Regions from separate parts of the Homo sapiens genome. Here regions 2, 3 and 4 are each linked to region 1. Evidence: promoter capture Hi-C in 16 types of primary human blood cells and fetal thymus (Javierre and others, 2016). All regions are on one chromosome and are shown on one strand. Each heading gives the region's core, a stretch centred on a gene start or on the middle of the fragment in contact. The rest is flanking DNA. Distances are from core to core; before and after follow the strand shown.

Region 1 (2,998 bases), core at 346-2,845:
TCACCTGACCTTTCCCTACATTTAGAAAGAACATGTTTACAGAAATTCCAATTAAATCAAGAGATAATATTAGGATATCCTGAACTGAATCCTCTAAGTGTTCTATCCCCTTCTCCAAGGGGTAACATTATTACTCTGGAGACCTCTCTATGTTCTACACACTCTTATTTCTATAGGGTCCATCTCACATGATATCAAACATATTTAAAAAATGCATGGACACTCCCCTAGTAAACACAGATGGCCCCACAGCAAAAAAATAAATTAACTGAAAAGATATTTAACATTTTGCTTTTGTAATTATTTACCTAATTATAAAAGATAATTAGCTAATTACCTATGGCTAATCTGTATAGTTTACCCCTGGATCTGATTTCTTACCTATCATCTGCGTATAGCTGTCAGGAATTCTTGCAAAGAAAACTTAACATAAATGTAATTAAAATTTGTAAACAAATTCAGCTGAATGAAAATGTTATGTCACATTTTACAAGCGTTTATCATAAGTAATTACAACTCTGCACTTTTTTCCTATTTTCAAGAGAATATTTTTGATCCTATCACTTAACTGTGCTACCTACTGGATAAGACAGCTCTGAAAGCTGTGGGGCAGTTTCTTTCGAAAGAGCTTTCTCTATGCACAGGTAATGCCATAATAAATAAAGATCCGTGTGAGTCATTTTATTATGATCCATGTTGTAACTGTCCATATTATCATTATTGTGTGCTGAAAAGATAACGATTTATCTCGGCAGTACCTGAAGCTTTCTCCAAAATACAGGGTCCTTAAAGCTTAGTTCCTAGAGATTGGGGGCAAAAATTCTCCCTGATTTCCCAGCCAAAAAACCCTTAATTGCTACGATGCTGGCCTCCCATCCACGGCAAGGGCGAAAAGTAGTGATTTCTTCGTTTAAAGGCCTTTGTTTCTATTTTAAATTTACCCCTAAGACCATATTAAAACACCTGGCTGCTCTGTGACCCTGGTGGTGGCAAAACCCGCGCCACCCTAGGCATCGCCCGTGGGCTCCGAACGCGTCAACCCAGGCCGTGAGCGAAGCCTGCAACCAGGGCCTGTTCCAGGAGCGCGAGAAACGGCTGCCGCGGCGACGCGCGCCGAGAACGCGCGATCGGGCGGCGGTTCCCAGCGGGACGCGGTGGGAAACGCCCGACACGGCCGGCCCCAGACCCCACCCGCCCCTCGCGCGGACACGCGCCTGGCTCCGCCCCCGGCCCCGCCGGCCGCGCGCCCCCACCCCGGCTGAGACCGGCCCCGCGAGGCGCGCAGGGTCCTCACTTGTGGAAAGAAACGGGCTTGTCCTTGTCGTAGCGGTTCTTGCAGCCGTAGGCGGAGCAGGACTGCACCATCCTTCCGGTCCTCAGGCACTTCACTTCTGCCGCCGCAGAAGGCAGGGGAAGCTGTTCTCAGTGTCGCTGCGCTCGGTTGGATTCCCTCGCTTCTTTTGTAGCTTTGGCCAACAGTTACAGTGATGGTGGCCTCCCTCGGGGGTGACTAGTGTGCCCGTTTTGTTGTTTGCATTAGCAGAAGGACCACAGCCATCGCCCGTCTCCCATCTCCAAGATGGCGGAGGCAGCTTCAACCTCACCTCTCGCGAGGGGTGCGTCCCACTGTCTCTGATTAGCCCCGAGGTCAGAGGTAACGTTTCCTGGGAAGCTAACTATTGGCTGAGGCCAGGTGTTTCCGGCGGTGGCTTCAGAGTTGCCGAAGTGGGCGGAGCCCTGAGCTTCCGGCAGGCAGGAAGGAACTGCTTGTGGGGGGAGGAGGCGCGGCGGGAGGCCGGATTCCTGGGGCATCCTCCAGCCCCGGGCTGTTCCCGTGGGTTAATTGATGCGGACCTTTTCTGGGGCAGCTTACAGTAGGGAACAACTAGGGCCTCTTGGAGAACAGGTGTAAAGCCGAGGTCGTTGGCTGATTGCGCCCATTTCTTTAAAAGGGCGGACACAGATGGTGTATGATTAATAAAATTGTGGAACCTTTTCCCAGAGTGCTAATCTTTATCCCATTACCTGTGTCTTCAGGTATCACAAGTTTCTGTGAGAGCCAACGTGACAGATTTTTAGCAATGAAAAAAGACACACTCGCCAAATCATCTCAATTGCCAACGCAGAAGCGTTTTATATATATGTATGTATATGTATGTATATATGTGTGTATGTATATATGTGTGTGTGTATGTATATATATATATATATATGTAATTTTTTAAATAAATAGAGGCGTTGTCTCCCCACGTTGCCCAGGTCAGTCTGGAACTCGAGCTCAAGGGATCCTCCCATCTCGACCTCCCCATGGGTTGGGATTACAGGAGTTGAGCCACCAGGCTGTCCCTCCCCAGAAGCTTTTCTGAAGGCTCTCCATTGCTGTGATTTCCATGTGCTGTGTTGCAAATAGCGAACTGCTGCAGCAATTTTCACACCTGAGAGAGAATATGTTAGAGGGGTTCGAACTAGAGCGACTCTGTGTTGAGTGAGGGCTAGGAAAATGAGGCTGGGACTTGCTGGGCTGCATTCCCGGGAAGTTAGGTATTCCTAGCCTCTAGATGTGTATACCATTAAGGCAACAGATTGATAATGTTTACTACACAGACCCAGACTACCAAGTGTCCAGATATCCCGATATTTTGAGAACAGAAGCATTCCTAATTTTGCTTTAAAGATAATAATATTGGGCTGGGCACAGTGCCTCACGCCTGTAATCCCAGCACTTTGGAAGGCCGAGGCGGGCGGATCACTTGAGGTCAGGAGTTCAAGACTAGCCTGGTCAACATGGTGAAAACGTCTCTACTAAAAATACAAAAATTAACCGGGTGTGGTGGCACATGCCCTCGAATTTCAGCTACTCTGGAGGCTGAGGCAGGATAATCGCTTGAATCCGGGAGGCGGGGGTTGCAGTGAGCCGTGCTTGCACCACTGCACTCCAGCCTGGGCGACAGAGTAAGACTCTGTCTCATAAATAAAGATAATATCGATTCTTACATAA
Region 2 (2,998 bases), core at 225-2,724, 1.3 Mb before region 1:
CAATCTTGGTGATGCCCTGGACAGCAGCAACTCCATGCAAACCATCCAAAAGACCACCACCCGCCAGATAGTGGATAGCAAAGTGGTGTCTGAGATCAGTGACACCAAAGTTCTGAGACATTAAGCCAGCAGAAGCAGGGTACCCTGTGGGGAGTAAGAGGCCAATAAAAAGTTCAGAGGTCAAAAAAACATCAAGGAATAGTCCATGGTAATTAAAAAATGTATATTTTTTTTGAGATGGAGTTTTGCTTTTTGCCCAGGCTGGAGTGCAATGGCACCATCTCGGCTCACTGCAAACTCCGCCTCCCGGATTCAAGTGATTCTCCTTCCTCAGCCTCCCGAGTAGCTGAGATTACAGGCGCCCGCCACCATGCCCAGCTAATTTTTTTATTTTTAGTAGAGACAGGGTTTCACCATGTGGGCCAGGCTGGTCTCAAACTCCTGACCTCAGGTGATCTGCCTGCCTCAGCCTCCCAAAGTGCTGGGATTACAGGTGTGAGCCACCACACCCAGCCTAAAAAACATATTTAAAGAAATAAGACATTGGCATGTTTCATTAGGAAAAAGGCATCACAGTTATTGTTACTATCTTGGATCACCTGATGACTCAGTGTAGTTTTATTATTTTTTTTTCTGGGTACATAGGTGTCTATATTCACGGTGTACATGAGATGTTTTGATACAGGCATGCAATGCGTAATAATTACAGTATGTCAAATGGGCTACTCATCCCCCTCAAGCACTGTGTTACAAACAATCCAAATACAGATTCCATTTTTTGTTTTTGTTTTTGAGATGGAGTTTCGCTCTTGTCACCCAGGCTGGAGTGCAGTGGTGCAATTTTTAGTAGAGACAGGGTTTCGCCATATTGGCCAGGCTGGTCTAGAACTCCTGAACTCAGGTGATCCAACAGCCTCAGCCTCACAAAGTGCTGGGATTACAGGCGTGAGCCACCGCACCCGACCCAGACTCCATTTCTTTTAAATAAGGTAGATTTGTAGAAAATTAACAACTTAGAAGTTACAGTCCATAGTCCAACTTTCTTTTGTAAGCTTATTTTCCTATATAAAATGTTCAATGTCTCTCCTTATCCAGTGAAACTCATAGTAAATAATACTTATATAGCCAGGAGACAAAAAAGAGGTCATAACACCTCAATTAAATTTCTTCTGTATTCCACTTAGCCCTGGCTCCTAGCATAAGTTAAAGCTACAGTTTCCCAGGAGTAACATGCTTTGTTTTTTGTTATTTGTTTTAATGTCAAAGGAAATCAGAGTACTGGTGCCATATCTGATTTATGTACTTACCTCCTCTCCCCTTCACCAGCTTCTTTCCCCCTCCAAACAAAGGAGATTGTACATTCCATGAGGGCAGAGGTGGTTTCCTACTTACCCTTGCATCCACCTCACACTCCATGCATCCTCATACACAGTGCTACAGATACTTAGCTCTCACATGTTTGTAAAGTGCATAAATGAATGAGAGGTAAGTTGACCCATCAGGTCATTAACATCAGAATAGAATTACGGTGCTACACCTGGATTGGTGCGGCGTTTGTCTGGCTTTTGATAGGCAGTGATTTGTGTGCTCCCTTGGTAAAGTCTTCTAAAACTGGGAGGAGATATCTGTGGCTTAAGCTCCAATAGAGTGGACTTTTGCCTGGAGATAAGTACCCTTGAGGATCCCAATGCCCTTTAATTCTAGATTAGGAATTCCCAGGGAAAGGAAAGGAATTGCATCGAAACCTCTGAGTTGGGTAAAGTAAATAATAAATAAGCCTCCTGCTCATACTTTGTCCTGTATTATTCTCTATGTAACATTAAATCCAGCTATGATTGAAACTGCAAAACTTAGAAGTCTATTTCTCCTTAATTCTTTTAACTTAGTCTTCTGATAAAAGCTTATTTTCAGATAATTTCCACTTTTCAAAATTCTCTAAGGACCTAATAAAGCACAAACAATACTTTGTACTCATTTGAGTTCTTGCTACTGAATTTCTCTATGTAAAATCAAAGTTACAAGAACAATATGAAAAAAGGTGCTTGTCACTCATTAGATAAAATGAATCAAGCACGCTTGTAGTCTAACATCACCAGAGACTACTCTGTAGTGCAAACACTAACTGAAACAGGCCAGAGTCATCCCTGTCCTCATGTGTGCTTGCTGGAAGGATAAACATCGATGACTGTAACCATTACACAGTGACCAGCTTTAATGTGCAAGGGTGTCAGTGTGAATGATTTTATTCTACCCCACCCCCAAGAGCTGGAATAAATGGCTTTATGATGGTACTCTCCAGTACTGTACTCAAAACTTGGAAATGTGTAGAGAACGGCAAACATCTGATTAACATCCCATTTGCTGTGGATTGTTGGGAATGTCAAAATGGGGATTGTGGACCACCTACGTGCTAGGATTGTTAGGGGTACAGCAATACATGTATTTTGCTCCAAAATGAGTAGGCACAGAATTACAGAACCAAAATAAAGATCTTGGCTCTTCTGAATTATATCCTAAGTTCTTCCCATATATGTACCTCAAATGCTGCAGATACGAAGTTCTGTGAAATTCTGCCTACAACCAGGAAGCCCTATGGGAACTTAACGCCTACTCTTTACATTTTTAAGCCTCCATTTTGCAAAAAAAAAAAAAAAAAAAAAAAAAGTTTTTATGAGTTAGGCACTACCAAAGATCTTTGGTTAAGGGTTATTGTCAAGTGAAAACAAGTTTATGCTAGCAGGATGTTGTGGGTTTTTAAAAAAATAGTATCTGAGCAATAAAAGGATTTATTGACTTAGTAACTTATCTAACTTTGTGCTGTCACATTTTACTTTGCTAGTGAAATCTTTAATCTTCAGATTTATAAACTATCTTTGAAGAAATATTTCGTTTCACCTACAAAGAGTTCTTTAAAAAAAAAAAGCAGGAGACCTAAAAATCCACCTATTAGCTGCCATATCTGTTGTTCTTGATCTTTCTGTTTCTGTTCATGTATATA
Region 3 (2,998 bases), core at 195-2,694, 1.3 Mb before region 1:
GTTATATTTGGTGGAGATAAGTAGTCCAGTGTTTTGGAGCTAAGTGGTTATTCTTTTTTTTTTTTTTTTTTTTGAGTTTGGGTCTCGCTCTGTCACACAGGCTGGAGTATAGTGCCACAATCTCAGTTCACTGCAACATCTGCCTCCTGGGTTCATGCAATTCTCCTGTCTCAGCCTCCCGAGTAGCTGGGATTACAGGTGCGTGCCATCACCCCCGGCTAAATTTTGTATTTTTAGTAGAGACGGGGTTTCACCATGTTGGCCAGGCTGGTCTCAAACTCCTGGCCTTAAGTGATCTGTCCGCCTCTGCCTCCCAAAGTGCTGGGATTACAGGCGTGAGCTACCCGCGCCCCGCTCCCCCCACCATTTTTTTTTAATTTTCAAAATTTTTGTAGAAGTGGGGGTCTCGTTACGTTGCCCCGGCTAGTCTCAAACTCCTGGCCTCAAGCGATCCTCCTGCTTTGGCCTCCCAAAACGCTGGGATTACTGGCGTGAACTACCATACTCTGCCCTTTATTCTTACAGAGATTTTGAGGTCTAAGAATGTGGACTTTAAAGATTTCATTATCAGATTATGCATTTAGCACGGAATGACAATCTGACAGCCGTGTACAGCGTAAACCGGCGGAGAGGGCTTGGCACTAAAGGCAAACTGTCTTTTAAGAACAGGAAAAAGAAAGGTAATATATATTTTAAGGAGGTCCCATTTTAGGGGAGATAATAAGCTTGGGTTAGGCGTCCGAAGTCAGAAGATATAGTAAGAAACACACACGCAAACTCCAGCAGCCACCAGCTAGACTTGAGTAGAGAGAGCAGGTCCAAGTGGAGGTGGAAGTTGGAAAGTTGCATCTGCCAGGCAGGGCGAAAGTGGCCTACACCCACTCCTGGAGCACCCTGCTTGACGAGCAAGGTAGACGAGGCTGAGGGATACTGCTGGTGATGACGGTGGTCGTGGTGATGGTGCTGGTAGCTAACAGATCTTGAGCGTACCAGGCCCTGAGCTGAGTCCTCTAACGGGCAGAATGTCGCTGCATACGGACAGCAGCCTCAAGAGGACAAGGTGATTTAGTGACTCTAGCCTCTTCCCGCGGTGCCAGCCTGATTTCACCCTCTCCGGAACACACAAGCGAACCTCCGGGGAGGGAGCCAGTATCGGGTCCTAACGCAGGGAAGCGCTCCGCTTTCTGAGAGGGACGCGCCAGCGGAGGGACAGCCAGGGCCCGGCCTCTCCTGCTCCTGCCCCGCCCCGCCCCCGGCAGTGCCCCCTAGTCCGCCAGAGGGCGACTCCGCGGGTCGCCCAACCCGCGACCGGTCCACGCGGCACCCGCCTCTCCCTAGGCCCCCGCCCTGCCGGCCCGCGCGCGCCCGACGGGAGCGTGCGGGGCGGTGGGCGCAGGGTCACGTTGGGCGGCGCAGACAAAGGCGGGCGCGCGCACGTCCTGACGCAGCTTGGGCCCGCGGCGGCGGCAAGGGCGGGAGGGAGCGGTCGCCGCGGGATTTGGAGCTGCCTAGCCTCGCGGTCGGTGAGTAGGAGGGAGCTGGCCCCTTACCTCAAAGTCTCCGACCTCCGGGGAGCCGAGAGCGGGACGTGGGAGCCGGGCTTGGGCGGCCGCGCGGGGCCTGCGGTCTGGGACGCCCCGGCGACGCTGCGCCGGCGTCAGGAGGCACCATCGCCGCGCCCCGGGGATCCCCGGCGGGTGGAGCGGGTGCCCCCCGTCCGGGATGGAACGGTCCGCGCCCGCCCCGAACCCCGGCCGCCCGCCTCTCCGCTCGCCTGCTCTCCGAGCCCGGCTCCTCGGAGCCCCTCGCCTCCCCCAAGTCCCAGGTGTGCGCAGCCCTCCCGCCCCGGGAGTCCGGGGATGTGGGTGGCGAGGGCTGCTGGGCGTTGGAGCACCAGGAAGCGCCTTCCCCTGTCATTCCCCTTCCTGTGTTCTCTGGCTGCCGTAAGATGCATGTCTTTACCCTCTCCTTCTCCAAATGCATGCTCCCATTTTTCTTTAGGATTTCTTAACTCCTGAAATCCCTTGCCTTTCCTTTTTTATTTCAGCACCCTCTGAGGCATCCTTCTCCCAGTGGGGCTTGTTTATTTCCTCGCTTTCCATGTCACAGAGGGCTGAAGTTTAGCTGTTCAGAAGTTGCAGAAAATAGCTTATAGGAGACATACGGTGTAGCACGATGGAAATAAGTTCCATCCTCTGCCAAGTATTACCATGGATCTTCTCATGGATAACCTTGAGGTCATTTGAGGAATTTTGTTTTTGGTTCATTTTCCTTAATTTTGGCTGAACTTTGAGGAGCTCTCCTTAGTTTCATGTCTTGTAGATTCTATCTCAATCCAAGGGAAATGGTGTGAAGAGCAGTTATACCATACCAAAGTCTCCAGACAAAATCCTGTAATAATGCCAATCAAATATACTTCTCTCTTTGAAAGAGATGTGCTTTTCTTTTCTTTTTTAACTTTGTATTTTGGAGAATTTCAGACACAGGGAAATAGATGGAATAGGGAACCAGCATGTACTTGTTCTGGCCTCCTCAGCCACTTAACTGTGGCTATTCCTGTGCCATACACACCCCACCCATTTCCCCTCCCGTATGTCTCAGGGAGAACTTGATGCAAGATGAGTCTGTCAAAAGTAGCTTCAGTTCCATAATGAAAACCACCATACCAAGTCATAAGGTGCTTTTTGTTTTGGAACACAGCCTACTCATGAGGTCTTCAGCTAAGAAACACAGTAGAGTTGAAGAAAGAGCACAGCAAAAGGTATCTTAACATGATAGAACAGGTTAAAAGAAAAAGTATGGCCGGGCGTGGTGACTCACGCCGGTAATCCCAGCACTTTGGGAGGCCGAGGCGGGCGGATCACCTAAAGTCAGGAGTTCAAGACCAGCCTGGCCAACATGGTGAAACCCTGCATATACTAAAAATACAAAAATTAGCCGGACGTGGTGGCAAGTACTTGTATTCCCAGCTACTCGGGAGGCTGAGGCCGGAGAATCG
Region 4 (2,998 bases), core at 261-2,760, 1.0 Mb before region 1:
CTCCGTCTCCAGCTTCCAAGCTGCACAGGGCCAGGCCGAGGTACGTGATGGCGGGCACTGAATTACAGATCCCGTCTGTGGCCGCCAGCCTCTGTGTCCTGCCACCTCCTCCGAGAGGACATCACCGCCACCAGGTGGAGCGAGTCTCCTCCTCGGCGCTCCAACCACGTGCTGTTTATTACTCTGTGGGGATTCCCATACCGAGGCCTCTTCAGTTCCTGGAACAGTAGCACTAAAAGGCTCCTGAGTGCCTCTGTTAATTTGATTGTTCTGGTTCGCACTACAATGACCGGGCTGGAGAGGGGGCGCTCGTAATGAAACAGGAACTGCTCCTCGCGCCCGCTCCAGAGTCCTTTACATCTTTGGGGAGAGGGCATACGGGGAGCTACATTTCATTTTCCTGAAGATTTTCCACGCGAAAGTGCTGGGGAGAGAGTTGGGCCTGGGAGGCTGCGCCTTCTTCCCGCGAATCCCGAAAACTGCGCGGCAAAGGCGGGTTCCGCAGAAGTCGCGCGTGACCCGGGGCGCCGCCCTCCTCGGGGCCCATTCGGATCTGCCGCCCGTCCTCTCCAGAGCGCCCCCTGGCGCCCTCTAGGCCATCTTGATTCCACCGCCGCAGTTGAAAGAATTAATAAATAAATCCTAGTCTCGCGTCTAGACCGGTCCGTGAGGGTCCCCTGCTCACCGGACACCCTGCCGCAATCTCTGCTGTCCCATTCTGGCCTCCCTACGGGGACGGGGGCCACCGTTTGCACATCAGCGGCGTTTGGGACAGCACTGTGCAAGATCTGTGACTCGGCTTTCAGAAGCTTCTGCCACAAGGCTTCAAAGGAAACCTTCAATTTTCACATTTCCTAGGGGGAAAAAAAATCTGAGATTTCTTCTTGTGGCTTGATGAACTTAGCTTTCGTCGCTGGAACAAAACCCGAGGAACAGCGTCTTCGCCACCCTTGCCACCTTACTGATGTTTCTCAGGGGGCACATGCCCATCGCAACCTTATGACCAATCCCATTTTTCAGATGCAGAAAGAGGCTCAGAGAGGTTAAGTGCTACTTGCTCAAGGCCACAGCAGGGAGTGGAGCTGGATTCGCTCCCAGGCAACTGACCCCAGCGTGCAGTCGATGCCTTCTCCTAGTCCCACTCACCGTGTAAGACCTGGTATTTACAAATTAGATTCTCGTTGTGCTTCTCCATTGGAAGGGCACTAGGGGAGCTCATTGTCTAAGACTGCCATCCCTAACTGCCTTTTAAAAAGAAATCTGGGCCGGGCGCAGTGGTTCATGCCTGTAATCCCAGCACTTTGGGAGGCCGAGGCAGGCAGATCACGAGGTCAAGAGATCGAGACCGTCCTGGCTAACACGGTGAAACCCCGTCTCTACTAAAAATACAAAAAATTAGCCGGGCGTGGTGGCGGGCGCCTGTAGTCCCAGCTACTTGGGAGGCTGAGGCAGGAGAATGGCTTGAACCCAGGAGGCTGAACTTGCAGTGAGCCGAGATCGCCCCACTGCACTCCAGCCTGGGCGACAGAGCGAGACTCTGTCTCAAAAAAAAAAAAAAAAAAAAAAATCTGACGTGACAAGGCCTTTAGTTTTTATAAGTGAGGTCTCCTCTCTTTGCCTAGATATTCCTCCGATAACATCAATGAAATTTTGCCCAGCACAGAGCAAGTACTAAATAATGATTTGGTGAATCTAATGTTGAGCCTGCAGTAATCCAACTAGAAACACCCACTCAGCCACTCGGGCATACCTTTTATTTGGGCAAGGGGCACTGCAGTTCTCTGGGCAGGGGTCAGCTAGGAGAGACCAATAGATGCCCCCACCCCAGGCTCCTAGACCCATCTCCAGGACCAAACAGCCAAAGCCCCTCTTCTTTTCTTCAAAATACACACATTTCTAGAAATTCTCTGCAAAATACATAGGCTACTAGATAAGCACCCAGTTTCCCTCTGGGGTCATTTGTTCCCGAATGAGGCTTATTAAAAGAGGAAACTATTTTTAAGCTAAATCATCAATCAAAAGTATTCTTCATTCTGGTATATGGCTGCTTTCCACAGATGATAAAATCCCGTCAACTTGATCCAAAGAAAAAATGACCTACATAACAATGACAGCATGAATAACAATTAATCCTCCATTGAAATGTTCAAAAGCTAGAATTGTGGTAAAGCCAAGATTCCCAGGGAGTGTCAGGAACTGCTCTCTTGATTCTAAGCTTGAAGCAGGTAAAGAAAAGGTTGTCTGGGACTAGGGCTTTCGGGGATAGGACCCAAATCCCAAGGCAAAGGGAGTCAGAAGCGAGTAAGAAAAGCAAACAGCTCCTACCTACCCAGTGCCAAAGAAACGCAGACACCAGTTCTGTGTCGGTTCTGCTTGAAAAGGTCTGAGAAGAATAATTTGGTAGATGAATCATTGAAGAATAATTTTGCAGACAGCTCCATCAAGCCAAATGCCCAGCGTGAGGGCTGTGTGTATAATACTGTCATAACCTTTGAAGATAGATTCTGTTCATCAACACGGCTGTTTACATAATCACTTGGTCACCTCACCAAATGGATTAATCTTTTTGGTCACATTCCTTATCAGTGCATGGAGAGGCTAATTGTTGGTGGCCCAATGTGTCCCATAAACGGATCCCATGAGAATAAGCTTGCAGCAACAGATGATGAAGGGAACTGAGATACAGACGAAAGCACAGCGGCCTGGGAGACAGGAGACGAGGCTCCGCCTGGACCTTGACGACGACCTTCCTTAAAACTATGGACTCGTCATCTGACCTCTCAAGGCCTCCATTTCCCCATCTGTAAAACCGAAAGCCCCTCAGCAATCTGGGGCTATCATCTGAAAAGTGTGGGCAGCTGCGGGCGCTCATACCTCAAGCCCCAAGAGTTTCTTCTTCTAACAGTAACATACTTTGCACATGACCCAGCAATCCCACTCCTGGGTATTTACCTGATAAATGAAAACCCATGTTTGCCGGGCATGGTGGCTCATGCAT

Evidence for each region. Contacts are between HindIII fragments. The CHiCAGO score rates a contact against its expected background, and 5 or more counts as called.
Region 2: a contact is called between a fragment that was not itself captured here and the fragment with the promoter of THAP1 in region 1, in 1 of 17 cell types (non-activated CD4 T cells). The highest score is 6.5, in non-activated CD4 T cells.
Region 3: the fragment with the promoter of GPAT4 here is called in contact with the fragment with the promoter of THAP1 in region 1 in 9 of 17 cell types (non-activated CD4 T cells, fetal thymus, total CD8 T cells and 6 more); the score reaches 13.4 in non-activated CD4 T cells.
Region 4: a fragment that was not itself captured here is called in contact with the fragment with the promoter of THAP1 in region 1 in 6 of 17 cell types (naive CD8 T cells, activated CD4 T cells, naive CD4 T cells and 3 more); the score reaches 8.5 in naive CD8 T cells.

What each region holds. Positions count from the first base shown.
Region 1 is chr8:42,841,730-42,844,727 of GRCh38, forward strand. It overlaps THAP1 (THAP domain containing 1), which reads right to left and starts at 1,596. Exons shown (of 3, transcript NM_018105.3): 1 at 1,295-1,596. The coding sequence starts at 1,365. It overlaps LOC124901940 (a long non-coding RNA gene), which reads left to right and starts at 1,205. Exons shown (of 2, transcript XR_007060901.1): 1 at 1,205-1,654; 2 at 2,038-2,998. RefSeq lists enhancers at 1,189-1,979, 1,315-1,674 and a silencer at 1,195-1,284. The HindIII fragment of the contact is 1,565 bases long and covers 791-2,355 here.
Region 2 is chr8:41,512,402-41,515,399 of GRCh38, forward strand. It overlaps the pseudogene KRT18P37. Among named protein-coding and RNA genes, the nearest start is that of GINS4, 15 kb to the right of the region's middle. The HindIII fragment of the contact is 848 bases long and covers 1,051-1,898 here.
Region 3 is chr8:41,576,756-41,579,753 of GRCh38, forward strand. It overlaps GPAT4 (glycerol-3-phosphate acyltransferase 4), which reads left to right and starts at 1,445. Exons shown (of 13, transcript NM_178819.4): 1 at 1,445-1,523. GPAT4-AS1 (GPAT4 and GINS4 antisense RNA 1) reads right to left here and starts at 1,613. Exons shown (of 3, transcript NR_125824.1): 1 at 1,551-1,613. RefSeq lists silencers at 1,172-1,791, 1,812-1,951. The HindIII fragment of the contact is 4,489 bases long and covers 724-2,998 here.
Region 4 is chr8:41,828,392-41,831,389 of GRCh38, forward strand. It overlaps a transcript of ANK1 not described here. Among named protein-coding and RNA genes, the nearest start is that of ANK1, 32 kb to the left of the region's middle. RefSeq lists enhancers at 1-148, 1-494. The HindIII fragment of the contact is 1,406 bases long and covers 808-2,213 here.